2 separate regions of the Homo sapiens genome follow, and region 2 is linked to region 1. Evidence: promoter capture Hi-C in human tissues and cell types (Jung and others, 2019). All regions are on one chromosome and are shown on one strand. Each heading gives the region's core, a stretch centred on a gene start or on the middle of the fragment in contact. The rest is flanking DNA. Distances are from core to core; before and after follow the strand shown. Region 1 holds the start of SPPL2C (signal peptide peptidase like 2C). Region 2 overlaps LINC02210-CRHR1 (LINC02210-CRHR1 readthrough).

The links. Contacts are between HindIII fragments. The study calls those that stand out against the background at their distance.
Region 2: a fragment that was not itself captured here is called in contact with the fragment with the promoter of SPPL2C in region 1 in 3 of the 25 tissues and cell types used here (lymphoblastoid cells, psoas muscle and spleen).

Annotation. Positions count from the first base shown.
Region 1 is chr17:45,840,734-45,847,812 of GRCh38, reverse strand. It overlaps SPPL2C (signal peptide peptidase like 2C), which reads right to left and starts at 2,932. Exons shown (of 1, transcript NM_175882.3): 1 at 746-2,932. The coding sequence starts at 2,906. The coding sequence ends at 852. MAPT-AS1 (MAPT antisense RNA 1) reads left to right here. Exons shown (of 2, transcript NR_024559.1): 2 at 3,652-4,457. RefSeq lists enhancers at 1,042-2,025, 2,026-3,010. The HindIII fragment of the contact is 11,226 bases long and covers 1-7,079 here.
Region 2 is chr17:45,765,221-45,772,299 of GRCh38, reverse strand. The region is part of intron 3 of LINC02210-CRHR1 (LINC02210-CRHR1 readthrough); the gene reads right to left. Among named protein-coding and RNA genes, the nearest start is that of CRHR1, 16 kb to the left of the region's middle. RefSeq lists an enhancer at 93-701. The HindIII fragment of the contact is 6,380 bases long and covers 1,850-7,079 here.

The sequences.
Region 1 (7,079 bases), core at 1,683-4,182:
TTGGTCTCCGGAATTCTTCCACCCTGGGCCCAACCTCTCCAACCCCTCCCGACCTCTTTGAGACAATTCTAAGTTTGTTTCTTGTCTGCCCACCCCTCCCCCTCCCCCAGCTAGACAGAGGCCTTCCCTGTGCCCACCACATGGCGATGCACATAGTAGGGGCATACTCAATGCCTGAAGATGGAATGGGTGGTGCATACAGGAACTTGCTGGGCTTGGTGCTGCTGCCTGGGATTCTTGAACAGAGACGTTTTGCAGAATGGATGTGAGCTGAGGAGTAAAGGATGCTTCGGAATCTTCTAGTGAGTCAGGGAGCCAGGCTGGAGTGTTTCTGTCTGGAGAGGGAAGGGCATCCCAGCTGGAGGGAACAGCATATGCAGAGAGAGCGGGTGGGGAGGACAAGGAGTTCTGTTTGACCTGAGCATGGAGAGAAGATGGGCAATGAGCCTAGGGTGGGTGGCAGGGATGGGATGGGGGCTGTGTGCCAGGCTAAGAAGCTGCCACTCTGGATTGGGAAGGGGTTGGGCAAGCAGGCAGAGGGGAGTAGCTGCCCAGTGAGCCCTGGATGCAAATCCCGACCTTGCCGCTTGAACTTGTGCAAGTCATAGGCCCTCTTGGAGCCTCAGTTTCCCCCCTTCATTATTTGGGGGTGGTGCCCACTCCTAAGGACCCTTCGAGCCCTGCACACTCTTATTATGTGGTTGCTGCTCTCTTGCACTCCCGACAAACAGAGAGACTCCTTGGGTAGATATGAAATCTCTTTGATACCCTGATTTCTTGTTGCCATGCATGGCTTTGCTCTGCAATGTTCCACCAGCCCTTTGAGAGGCGTGTGTCCCAGTGCCTCCAGTTCACAAGGGAGCCTGGGTCGACATGCTCTTTCTTACTTTCAAACCCTTCCTCTTGTGGAGTCCCGCCCAGGGCAGGCCAGTCTCGTGGGCCTGGGCCTGGGCATGGACATGGCCCAGCTCTGAGGGCGGGGGCATCAGGGGCATGAGTGGGATCAGCATGGCCATTGGCATCAGTGGCATCAGCTCCTCCGAGGCCCCAGGGGGGATGAAGGGCAGCTCATTAGGATCCAAGTGGGCGTCACTCCAGCCCTCGGAGCTATCACTGCGGTCCTCTGGATTGGTGGCTTCATTCTCAGATATGGTGACAATCTCAGTGGTGTCTTCTCCAGGGTTGCTGTCTAAGTCCCCTGCTCCTCGGCTGGTGCCTCTCTCAAGTGTGCTGGCTGTGTGGGCATCTGCTGCGCCCTCCTGCTTCTGCCTAGAGCCAGCTGAAGGGGCACAGCCGAGCCCACACATCTTAGCTCTGCCCTGGCCAGTCCAGAAGAGGCTGAGCTCTTGGCGGCAGGCAGCCACAGCCAGGCTGGTGAGCAGGGTGCTGGACACTAGGTAGAGCAAGGCAGGTTGGCCCATCTGCATGAGGACCATGGCCATGAATGTGACCAGCAGGCCCACAGCATAGGCCACGGTGCAGGCCACGAAGTAGATCTGACGGGAGCAGACTTGCACATCAAAGCGGCAACAGTAAGCAACCAGGAAGCCGGGGACCACAATGTCACCGAAGCCAAGGATGGAGAAGGGCTGGCTGCACAGGGTCAAGGCGGAGACTCTTAGCCGGGGCACTTTGAGTACCATGGGCAGCCTCTCATGGCTTGAAGACTCTGCAGGGCCCAAGGCAACCTGCGCCATGATGCTCTCACCGGTTTTGGTGAAGAAGGGGGTGACGAAGACAAAGAAGACATCAAAGGCCAGCAGGGCCAGCAGGAAGGAGGAGCAGTTCTTGAGAGTGGGCAGCCGCACACGGTGCAGGACGAACAGGCAGTAGGAAATGCCCAGTGTGTCCTGCAGGAGCCACGCCCAGCGGTCCTCATTGCGGTAGGCCACCCAGAAGATGATCACGGTTGCGCACAGGCTCGCCAGCAGCAGCAGAGGCAGCGGCAGAGAGGCCCAGAGGCTGTGCGGAGGCCTCTGGTATTGCCGCAGGGACAGGCGGCACACCAGGGGTGACAGGCAGCTGTAGAGGCCAATGCCAGCACCCAGGCCAAAGATCCCAATGGTGACATAGACAAAGTGGTCATAGAAGAAGTAGAGCAGCAGCATGAGCGAGCAGGACAGGGTGACCACCACGCCTGTCATGGCCGGCGTGAAGTCCACTGGGATGTCCTCATTATCTTCCTTCTGGGCTCCCTCAGCTGCTGCAGCTTCCTGCAGCTGATGGTGACCACCAGACCCCCCTCCTCTTCGGGCACGGCGCCGCTGTAGCCGGTTGGCTTCGGTCAGGCCGGCCCAGTAGCCGCCTGCAGCCACTGTGCCCACAGCCAGGATGAAGATGACCAGCATGTTGTAGTCGATGATGGGCTCTGGGGGTGCGTACATGGCCACGCGGACGACGGCCTCCCCACGAGTGTGGCTGAGGATGTCCAGCATGTCAGCATAGTGGAGCATAGCCACAGGGATGGTGAGGTCTGCCAGGGGCTGGCGGGGATCCTGGGGTGCCAGGGTGGTGTCTGAGCACTGTTGGTCACTGACCCGGCTCACGATGAGCAGCCCGTGGGCACCTTGGCCCTGAGCCAGCCAGCCTTTCGTGTGGAAGCTGCAGTTACCCCTCATGACCATGGCAGTGGTCTGGCGGAGGGGCCGCTGGCTGGGGGAGCGGAGCTGGGCCTGGTGGGGGGAATCCTCACCCGGGCACCAGGGTGCCTTGGTGCCATCATACAGGGGCAGGAGTGGGGCGTGGTGCAGGTCCCGGGGGAGGGTGATGTAGTCGGAGCTGAACAGGATACAGTAGTCCTTGCTCCAATTCTCCGACACCACGTGGGCCACGCCGTACTTTCCCCCGGCCACGGTGCTGATGAGGAGGAGGAAGCCCACGGGGAGGAGGAAGCCCAGGCACGCCATCTTCTTCAGTTCCTACTGCAACATCTGCGGGCGGCAGCCCAATACCCCTCCCAGGGGCAGGCGTGGCCCTTTGTCACAGAGCAGTCTGGCCACCTGTCCTGGAAACCAGGGCCACACCTACCTAGTCATAAAGCTGTGTGGTCCCCAGCCGAGGGCGCTGCTGTGGGGCACAGGGTCCCTCTAGAATGATGCCCCCCAACCCTGGGAGACCAGGGGAGAGGTCATATGGACCCTGCTCTCTGCCCAGACCCTAGTGGGTTTAGACCAGGTACTTTGAAATAAAAGGTGTGAGCATGGGGTTTGCAGGCCAGATAGGATTCTGAACCAACTTTTCTCCTTACCCATGGGGAACACAGGCCAATGTCACTCCTCTCTAGGCCTGTTTCTTTAGCTGTAAAGAAATGAGGACGTTGGGCCAGAGAGTTTCTAAGGTCCCTTGGAGCTCTGAGCTCAGTAACATTGAGCACTTTTACCGAGGGCTTACTAGGCGCCAGGTACCCTAGCTGTACCTATTGCACAGTTGCAAGGAGGTGTCATTATATCTGCACAGCCTGAGGCTGTCCCTCAAAGTTGGTCCCCATTTCTACCAGGCACATGACCAGAATTCACCTCCAACTCCATTTACAGTTGGGAACGGACAGGTGACCAGGAGAAATTAAGCAAAAATGATGTGAACTCTTTACATCAGGGGCTTAGGCTGACAGACCGTGGGGCTCCTGGTTTACCCTCTCTTTCCCTTTCTCAGGAGTCAGAACAAGGACGGGCCTGTGATGTGTCTGTCTATGACGAGGAGGACAATGTCCTAAGGAATGGAGAGGAAGAAAGTGAAGGGAACCAGGTCCCTGGATTCCATGTGGAACAGTAGCCCAGGATGTGCACTATGGACTGTTACAAGAGAGAGACATGATCTTCCTTAAGGCATTGATTTGTCATGAGTCTCTTTGTTATAGCCACTTAACGTTACCTTAATACACCCACTTCATGGATAAGTAAAACTGAGGCTTGGAGAAGCCCACATTGACACAGCAAAGAAGGCTGGGGCTCTTGTGCTGGTTAAATGGACCTTGATGTCTTCCAAATGTTTTCATGCTGGATTCTGAGCCACTCTCCTGGCTGCAACTCTGAGGCCGGGCAGACTTTCCGCTGGAAAGAGAACTCAAATACTGGTGAGAGGTGGATTTGAAGCCAGGAGCCCCAGGTTTTGGCTCTGCAGGTTTGCACCCAGCTCTGTGGTGTATGCCCTCACAGGTCACCCAGGACCTCCTGTCCAGGCTTCTTCAGGCCACCCATGATGGAGTAGATTTGAGGAATGAGGTTTTCAAAGCAGTTAGTGTGCGGGAGAGTAACCCTGGGGCCTCCGGAACCAGAAGGGAGGGATTTGGGGGCTGGAGCTTGGCAGTCCAGGTTCCATTGTCCTCATGTTCTCCCCACTGGCCTGGCCTGTCACTCCAGTCTCTGCATAGGTTGTCACATGGCATTCTCCCTGTGTGTCTCTGTGTCTCTTCTCTTCTTTATAAAGACATAGTTATAATGGATTAGGGCCCACCCTAATGACACCATCTTAACTTGATTATGTCTGCAAACACCCTACTTCCAAATAAGGTCGCATTAACAGGTACTGGGGTTTAGGACTTCAACATGCCTATTTGGGGGCACAATTGTGGGCAGCCCCACAACACACATGTAATTTTAACCTCTAAGGAGTAAGCATGCTGATTTTTTTTTTTTTTTTTTTTTGAGACAGGGTCTTGCTCTGTTGCTCGGCTGGAGTGCAGTGGCACGATCTCAGCTCACTGCAAACTCCACCTCCTGGTTTCAAGCAATTCTCCCCCGACCCAGCCTCCCGAGTAGCTGGGATTACAGGTGTGTGCCACCATGCCCAGCTAATTTTTGTGATTTTAGTACAGATGGTGTCTCACCATTTTGCCCAGGCTGGTCTCGAACTCCTGGCCTTAAGTGAATCGCCCACCTCAGCCTCCCGAGGTGCTGAGATTACAGGCACAAGCCACTGTGCCTGGCCAATCACTGATCTTTCTCAAGGACTCTCCTTCTTTTCTCTTTGAGATGGAGTCTCACTCTGTCCCCTAGGCAGGCTGGAGTGCAGTGGCACAATCTTGGCTCACTGCAACCTCCACCTCCCAAGTTCAAGCGATTCTCCTGCCTCAGCCTCCCAAGTAGCTGAGATTATAGGCGCCCACCACCATACCTGGCTAATTTTTGTATTTTTAGTAGACATGGGGTTTCACCATGTTAGCCAGGCTGGTCTCAAACTCCTGGCCTCAGGTGATCCAGCCACCTTGGTCCCCCAAAGTGCTGGGATTACAGGCGTGAGCCACCGTGCCTGTCAAGGCCTCTCCTTCTATTACGGGTCCATCTCTTGCAGTCCCAAACTGCTTTCCTTGGGAAATCCACAGGGATGAAACATCATCTCCAACATCAGCTGTGGATTCTTTGAAGTGGAGGGTGAGTTTAAAGGGCCATGTGAAGTGGTCAGCAAGTGGAACCCATCTGAGATTCTGACAATTCTCTCTCACCCAGTTATTTACACTCATCTCACCCACACCTAATTTGCCAATATTTTTGGTGACTCATTTGTAAAGTATCCTTCAAAGCATTAGACTGAATTTTCATAAGAAACATCTCTCCTTGTTAGTGCACTTCTGATTCATCAGTAATATAACATTTAGTTAGATTACGACAGTAATTACAATGACAAGTGAACTGTCAGAAACATGTTCAGGAACAAATACAAGTGACTGGCAAACAAACCACCAGCCGGTGTGAGGAGAAGCAGGCAGAGCCCAGGGGAGGAGGCTGCCAGCTGTCCCTTCCGAGTGCTCCCATTTCAAAGGGGAGGTTGGCAGGAGGGTGGTTAGGAGAGGGAGGCTCGCCTGTAGGCCACAGGAGGGCTGTGACAGTAAAACCCTTTCTGGCCCCCCAGCAACGAATGGGCAACCTAGACCCTCACTCCAGGCCCTGTTCTCCACGCAGGGAGTCGTGGATCTTTTAAAAAACAAGAACCAGCACACCCACTTTGTCACAAAACCCAGACAATCACAAGCTTTGTCGAGGATATAGGGAAGTTGGGACCCTCATACACTGCTGGTGGGAATGGAAAATTGTGCAGCCGCTGCAGGAAACAGCTTGGTGGTTCCTAGATAAGTTAAGCAGAGTTATCATATGACCCAGCACTTATACTCCCAGCTATATATCCCAAAGAATTGAAATCAGGCCTTCAAACAAAAGCGTGTACATGCATGCTCATAGCAGGACTATTCATGATAACTTGGAATAGGTGGAGAGAACCCATATGTCCATCCACTGATGAATGGAGAAACTGCGGTCTCTCCACACAAGGGAATAGCATTCAGCCATAAGAAGGAATGACGTTTTGATACCTGCTACCATGTGGATGGACCTTGAAAACATTATGCTAAGCCGAAACACATTATGCTAAGTGGAAACACATTATGCTAAATGAAGACGCCAGACACAAAAGGACACATATTGTACGATTAATTCCACTTACGTGAAACAGCCAAAACAGGCAGATCTACAGAGGCAGAGAGCAGATTCGTGGCGGGCAGGGGCTGGGGGAGGGGAGAATGAGGAGTGACTGGTGGGTATGGGATTTCCATCTGGGGTGATGAAGAAGTTCCAGAACTTTTTCTATCTCAGTGGTTTCAGTTGCACGACATTGTGTATTTAAAGTCACTGAATTGTGCACTAACATGGTTGAAATGGGACTTTTTTTTGAGATGGAATTTCGCTCTTGTCCCTCAGGCTGGAGTGCAGTGGTACAATCTCAGCTCACTGCAACCTCCACCTCCCGGGTTCAAGTGATTCTCCTGCCTTAGCCTCCCGAGTAGCTGGGATTACAGGCATGCACCACCACCATGCCCAGCTAATTTTCGTATTTTTAGGAGAGACAGGGTTTCACCATGTTGGCCAGGCTGGTCTCGAACTCCTGGCCTCAAGTGATTCACCCACCTTGGCCTCCCAAAGTGCTGGGATTACAGGTGTGAGCCACAGCGCCCAGACGAAATGGAGCAACTCCAGTCCCCTCCAGCTGCTCTCTCCTCAGGACAGGTCTCATTTTAGTTCTTCTGGACTCCATCACACCAGCACATGCCCCAATTTGGGGGTCTGCACAGACACCTCAAGCAGAGCTTG
Region 2 (7,079 bases), core at 3,790-6,289, 78 kb after region 1:
ATGTGGCATGGAGGCTCACACTCTGGATTTCTGATCCTGAAGCAGGCTGCTGATAAGGTTTAGCTTGTCAAATATATTTCCATTAAAAAAAAATGAATTGACATTTTGATGTACGACTCAGTCTTTGGAAGGTGTGTTTATTGTGAGTCGAATTCCCATTAAAGGCGACTGAAACAACAGAGCTCCCCATGCTGCAAAGCTGAGGCCCAGACACGGGGCTGAGGAGGCCCCACCAAACCACATATATGAGAGGCCTCCTCAGCCACCCGTCCCATCTCAACTCCTCACCTGGACTCCAGACTCCTCAACTTCTTTGGAAATTTTGCCTTAAACCTCACCCCCTCTAGGAAGCCTTCACCAGTGCCTCCTGTGGGCCTCTCCCTTGCTCAAAGCAAGGTCTAAAGCCCGTTTTCTCTGCTACATTCTCAACAGTCTTGTTCACAGCTACACTCCTGCACACCTCACACTGGGCCCGGCACACAGCAGGAGCTTAATGGATACTCACCAAATGAATGAGTAAACCAATGGCCAGGACTCTGCTCCTGCCAGGCTACCCTGCTTGTCTCCTTTCTCTGTGATCTGTGCCAATCACACCCCTCATTGGGAAGCAGAGGGGCGGCCACAGGGGATGGCTTAGCACCCCCAGCCCCTGAGGAGTCCGTGCCTGCCAGCTCCATCCGAGGATGGGTGTGGGGAACCAGCTGCCCGTCTCATTAACAGATGAGTGTCCTGAGCTCTGATGGGTGGAAGGGGGGAGTGTCGCAGGAAGGAGGGGGCTGTAGAGGCCTCAAGTGGCTCCTTGGCCATCTCTGAGCAGCGCAGACTCTGATATTAAGCAGAGCTGTGTGGAAATTACTCATTTCTGCATCTCCGCCGCCCCTCATTTCTCTGTGCTCATCAGCACATTGCCTCGCCAACCTCCCCTGCCACTTCTCAGAGGAAGACAGGAGGAGCTGGGGGGAGACTGAGTTCCATCCTCTTTGGAGCTTGTTCAGATTTTCAATGAGCTGCAGACCCCCTCATATCCCGTCATATCCTGCCACCCGCTGTCACCATCACAGCCACCCTGACCACCTTCCTTCCCCAAAACGTCCCCTCCCTGCTGATCGATCTCCACCTCTCTTCCAGCCTCCCTTCCTCCCTGTCTCTGCCCCTCCCCCTCAGCTCAGCCGCAGGATTTCTGCTCCACTGTGAATTGCAGAATCCCTAAGCCCTGGGAAAGCCCAGCCCCACTAATGAGCTAAAGCTGACCTTGTCTCCAGGCCGCAGCAGCTGAATGTATTAACCCCTCACTCCAGCAGAGACCTCATTGACTTCCAAACCACTTTTGCATCATTGTGCAGTCAGTCCAATGGAGCCGTTTATTGGGCACCTACTATAGACAAGGCCCTTGGGGCAGGGTGGGGGGTGCTGGGGACAAGGTCCTTTCACTTGTGGAGCTGCAACCTTGCAGGAATAGCTATAGCATCAGCGGCTCTGTGACAGAGGAAAGGTCGCTGCTGTGAATCAAGGACACTGGACTGTGGTCCGAGTCTGGCCACCAACTGGCTGCATGACCTTGATCCAGTCCCTTCCTCCCTCTGGACCTTGGTACTTCTATCTGCAAATAAGGGGTCGAACTTGTTCAGTATTTTCCAAACTGCAGTTTGCAACCCATTACAGGATGGGGAGATAAATTTAGTGTCAGAACCAACATTCGAAGAAAGAAAAAAACTTTAAGCAACTGCATCAGAACACGGCACACAATAGAGGTAAGTATTACACAAAGAAACTTATTGGGCTGACACGGTGGCTCACACCTGCAACCCCAGAGCAGTTTGGAAGGTCGAGGTGGGCAGATCGCTTGAGCTCAGGAGTTCAAGACCAGCCTGGGTAATGTTGTGAAATCCCATCTCTGCAAAAATATAAAAATTAGCCAGTCATGATGGTGCATGCCTGTAGTCCGAGCTACTTGAGAGCTCAAGCAGGAGGATCGCTTGAGCTCAGGAGATTGAGGCTGCAGTGAGTTGAGATTGTGCCACTGCACTCCAGCCTGGGTGACAGAGTGAGGCCCTGTCTCAAAAACAAACAAACAAACAAACAAACAAACAAACAAAAAGAAACAAAAAAACTTCTTTTGGCTGCACATCTCTTGTACATGTTTCCACAGGTACCTGCATGTATGTGTACGTGTGTCTATTTGTGTCTATGGTTGAGTGTGGACTATATGTATATGCACATGTGTTTTATGCACTTGTGTGTCTCTGTGTGTGTGTGTGTGTGTGCTGGGTCACAACAGAGTGGATTTCTTACGATGAGTCACAGTCAAAATATCTTGGGAAACGCTGTTGTACATGGTCCCTAAGATTCTTCTGGTTCCAAAACTACATCGTTTCAAATGCTGTTAGAAGAGGGACACTGAGGGGCTCATTCTAGCCACGGGATAGGGAAAACTTCATCAAAGAGTTGGTGGCACTTGTACTTTCTTTTTTTTCTTTTTTCTTTTTTTTTTTTTTGAGACGGAGTCTCGCTCTGTCGCCCAGGCTGGAGGGCAGTGGCGCCATCTCGGCTCACTGCAAGCTCCACCTACCGGGTTCACGCCATTCTCCTGCCTCAGCCTCCGGAGTAGCTGGGACTACAGGCACCCGCCACCACACCTGGCTAATTTTTTGTATTTTTAGTAGAAATGGGGTTTCACCGTGTTAGCCAGGATGGTCTCAATCTCCTGACCTTGCGATCCGCCTGCCTCGGCCTCCCAGAGTGCTGAGATTACAGGTGTGAGCCACTGCACCCGGTCCATTTGTACTTTAAAAGATGAGCAGGATTTCTACCAACATAGAAATGTAGGGGACAGAGGGGAGAGAGACAGAGGGGAGAAGGGGCAACAGCATTCCAGGTGGAGGCACCATTGTGAGCAAAGGCCGGGAGGTGGGACTGTGCTCCGTCTGTTTGGGGAACAGCGAGGAGTCCTAGGACCCCAGGACAGGGGATGACGTTCTGAGATTGGAAAGCTGGGCTGGGGCCACGTCTTGTGGCGGCCCATGGCTTCCACTTGGGGGATTTCCACAGGGATGGTGGGAAGCCAGGTAAGGCTTTTGATATCCCAACAGCCCCAGGAGGAACCCCAGACTCCATGCTTCCCCCTGTCTCCCAGGAAAGGACTTCTAGACTAAGGTATGACTGATTGACAAGACTTCATGAACCACCTGTTTCATAGGGGTGGTGGGTGATTTATTATTGGCAAGTGGTTCTAAGGCAGAGGGTCTGACATAGGGCTGGGCTGCTTCTCTGTACGTGCTGACCACTGCTCTGCGAGGGGGGTTGCACACCCACGTGTCAGCATTTCAGAGACTTTGACGCATGTGAGCATACTTGGGACAGAGTACTTGCCATTGTGAGGCTCACCATGCCTGAGGATCTAGACAGAAACAGATCAACTTATTGAATCCTTCGTTTGCAGATGAGGCAGCCGAAATCCAGAGATGTGACTGGCCCAAGGAGTCACAGTGGGCGAGAACTTATTCCTCAGGCCATTAGATTCCCTAATGCTGCACCTTCGGGCCCCTTTGTGCTGCTGCTGGACGGGTGGGGATGCGAGAGGGTGCTGAAGAGGTGGTATTGGGAGGCCTCAGGAGGTGGCTGCCTACTCAAAAAGCCTTACTTGCTTTAAAACAGCTCAGGCCGGCTCCCGTCCCCCACAGAAGACCCCCACTCCCTACCCTGCGGGCAATTCCTTGACAGTCACATTAGTGAAGGCTGGGTTAACCCTTGATGCTCTGCCCTCCAGCACCAGGGCAGGACCTGGACACCAGGGTCATTCCCTCCCTGGCACCTATGGAGACTGGATGCTGAGGAGGGAAAGGTGAAGCCACAGCCAACTATTTTTAGTTCAAGAATTGGTTGCCAGGAACACTGAGCCGACTCCCTGCTGTATATTAGGGATGCGACAGCAGCGGTGTTGTTTGCAGGGTCTAATTGTGGGGATTTATTGTAACATGCAACTTGTCAGCCACTGCTCTGCCTAGGGCCCAGTCTCCTTGTCATCGGAATCTGAGCTATTTCCCAACTCCCTGGGTGCAGGGGAAGGAAATGGGGCAGAGAAGGAGCAGGAGTGTGCCCAGGGACCCTGGACAGCTCACAGCTGACCTTGCACCAAGAGTCGCTCTGCCCAGGAGGGGGCAGAGAGGAGAAAAGTGATGAGACTGGATTGGAAGCAAAGAGAGAGGGCCTGGGGCTGCCCATTGTTGGGCCCACAGGACTCAACCTTGACTTTCCTTGGGGCTTCAGATCTGGAAGAGGCTCAGTGGGAACAAGCTGAGAGCTTTTTCTCTTGTGCATGACAGTAGCATAGGAGGGCACCGGCCTGGGTAACAGCGGAGAGTTTTCAGTTAGATGGAAGGAGGACCTCCTTGACTTGAGGGTGGTCCTCCTTCCACCCTCAAGTCAAGGGTGGCAAGGAGGGGACAGTGTCTGGTCTCAGCAGTGGCAGTGGTCATCCTTCTGCCAAGGGAGGGGGAGAGATATGCAGACACCTAGCAAAGCCTACTATGTGCTGGGCACACTGTGCAGCACCCCGATGCAACCTTATTTAATCCTTTGCAAAGGGGGCCTCTGTCTCCATTGCGTAGATGAGGAAACTGAGGCTCGGGTAGATATTCACCTAAGGTCTCATAGCAGTAAGGAGGCTACAGCTGGGATTTTTACCCGAAAGTGTCCAACTTCAGAGCTCTGCTCACCAACCATTATTGACTAGGACCCCAGGAACTGGAAGGAGGGGTCATCTTTCCCCTTGTTCCTGCATGCCTGGAATTCTGGGACAAAAAGACATTCAGCCAGCCAGCCAACAAACGCGCCAGGTACTGCGCCAGGCCCCTGGAATATAGGTACCCACCCAGGAAGAGCTGATGTGAAAAGGTCATTTCTTCCAGCCTCCTGCCTCATCTCCTCCTCTCCAAAAACCGTGGTCTGCATTTCAAATCACTCGAGAAAGGAAGGGCTGCAACTGTCCTTCTTCCCTTAAATAGTCAGGACTATTTAAGAAGCTTCTGATGTCTCAGGTAGGGGATAGGGGAAGGACGGCTTGGACTCTCAGCATCTTGGGGGAAGGCTGGACTCAGGCCTACTTTAATTATTTAGAAACCCTGGAGTAATGATGCAGAACCACCTTATGGGAGTGGTAAATGAGAAAGAGAAGGTTGAAAGCTGCCAGCCATGGGTTCAACTTTCCCGAGACAAGCTAAAATTGGACTGATCATTATAGCAGGCACCCAGGTATATGATTATTCTTCATAATTTTTTTTAGTTGCATAGACTACATTTTAAATAGATAATGCAAACTTGCACATGATGCAAAAATCAAAAGGTGCATAGGAAATATCCTGAAAATCTCCCTCCCTTCCCCACTCCCAGCCACCTAATTCCTCTCTCCACAGGCTCCAAGGTTATCAGTTTCTTGGTAGATTTGCAGAGATCGTCGATCCAATAAGTAAGCAATTACGGCTATATATTCTTTTTGTTTTATACAAACGTGCTCTTCTATACCTTGCTTTTTTTCCCACTTAGCAATTTATCTTGGAGATTGTTCCAAATCAGTCCATAAAGAGTAGCCCCCTCCATTCCTTTTTAATGATTGCATAATATTCTGCCAGTTGAATGAACCCTGATCTGCCGAACTCATCCCCAGCGATGGGCATTTAGGTGTTTTCAATCTTTGGCTCTTAAAAGTAGTGCTGCCATAAATAACCTCATTCATAGATCATATGGCATATGAAAGGTTATATTTATGGCATAAATTCCCAGAAGTGGAGCTGCTGGCCCGTGAACACGTACATTTATAATTTTGATACTTATTGCTGAATCTTTCTCCAAATAGATTGCACCAATTTATACTGTCTTGAGTTTCCCCAGAAGCAGGACCTGTGAAAAAGATTCAAGGGCAGGTTGTTTATTTGGGAGGTAATCCCAGGAGGTCCCAGTAGGGAGGTGGGGAAGGCGGGCAGGGGAGGGAGGAAAGCCTGATGACTGGACCTTAATCCCATTGAGGAGCTCAGGGAGGCATGTGGGACCCCCAGCTCAGAGTCATCCCAGTGGAGGGCACGAGGGTAGGGCACTGGTGACATCTGCCATCCCCTCCTCTAGAAACATAGGGATCCCTGTTGCCCCACACCTTCACATTGGGAAAATCTGATCATCCTTCCCCCCACACCCCTCCCTGGGCCCCATCTCACCCCAGTGCATGGACAGCCTGTGAAGGGGGCTGCCCACCCCACAGCCCCGCCCCAGGCTGGCACCGATCACTCTGCCCCTGCAGGGTCCCTCCTAGCTGCTAAGCCCTGGGGAAGGTAGAGAGGCACATCTAGGGTCACAAGACCCTAAACGCCCTAAAAGGAAACTACCTGTGGCACAACCTTTGTGCCCGTCACCACCCACCCTCCAGGCATCACACAAAACATGCCCCCTCCAGAATTGTTTAACCGATCGAACATAAGATTCCGCCCTTGTCCCCCAGAAGCCACACCCTGCATGTGAACTCCATGTAGAGACAAGGCCACACTCACTGGGGGCACAGACATAGATGCTAGGAACCAACCCAGGCTGGGGCGAAGGCTCTGCAGGTGGGCAGAAGCAGGTCTAGGGGTGGTGTTGGCCCTCGGGGCCCCAGGACCCTCTTCCAGCTCCCTACATCTGCTTTCCCCACCCTGTCCCCACCAGGTTGGTTCAGAGCTCCAGGCTCCCCCTCCCCAAGGCCCATGAGGAAGACTTGGGAGAAGTGGGTCCTTTAGGGGTCAGCCCTGGCCTCCTTGCTGACTAGGTTCTCTGTGGCCTCCTCTCATCTTCAAGATGCTATCCCTCCACCTACCTTATTTAACTGAGGGCTACTGTCCTCACTAGGGAACTAGCAGTCAGCTTATTTAACTGAGGGCTACTGCCCTCACTAGGGCACTAGCAGTCCGCTTATTGAACTGAGGGCTACTGTCCTCACTAGGGCACTAGCAGTCAGAGACACAGAAGAATAAGAGAAAGCACAATCCTCTATGCAACTAGGCTCAGGGCAGGACCCTAGTTAGGGCCTATTAGCCCTTAAAGCAAACCTGCAGCTG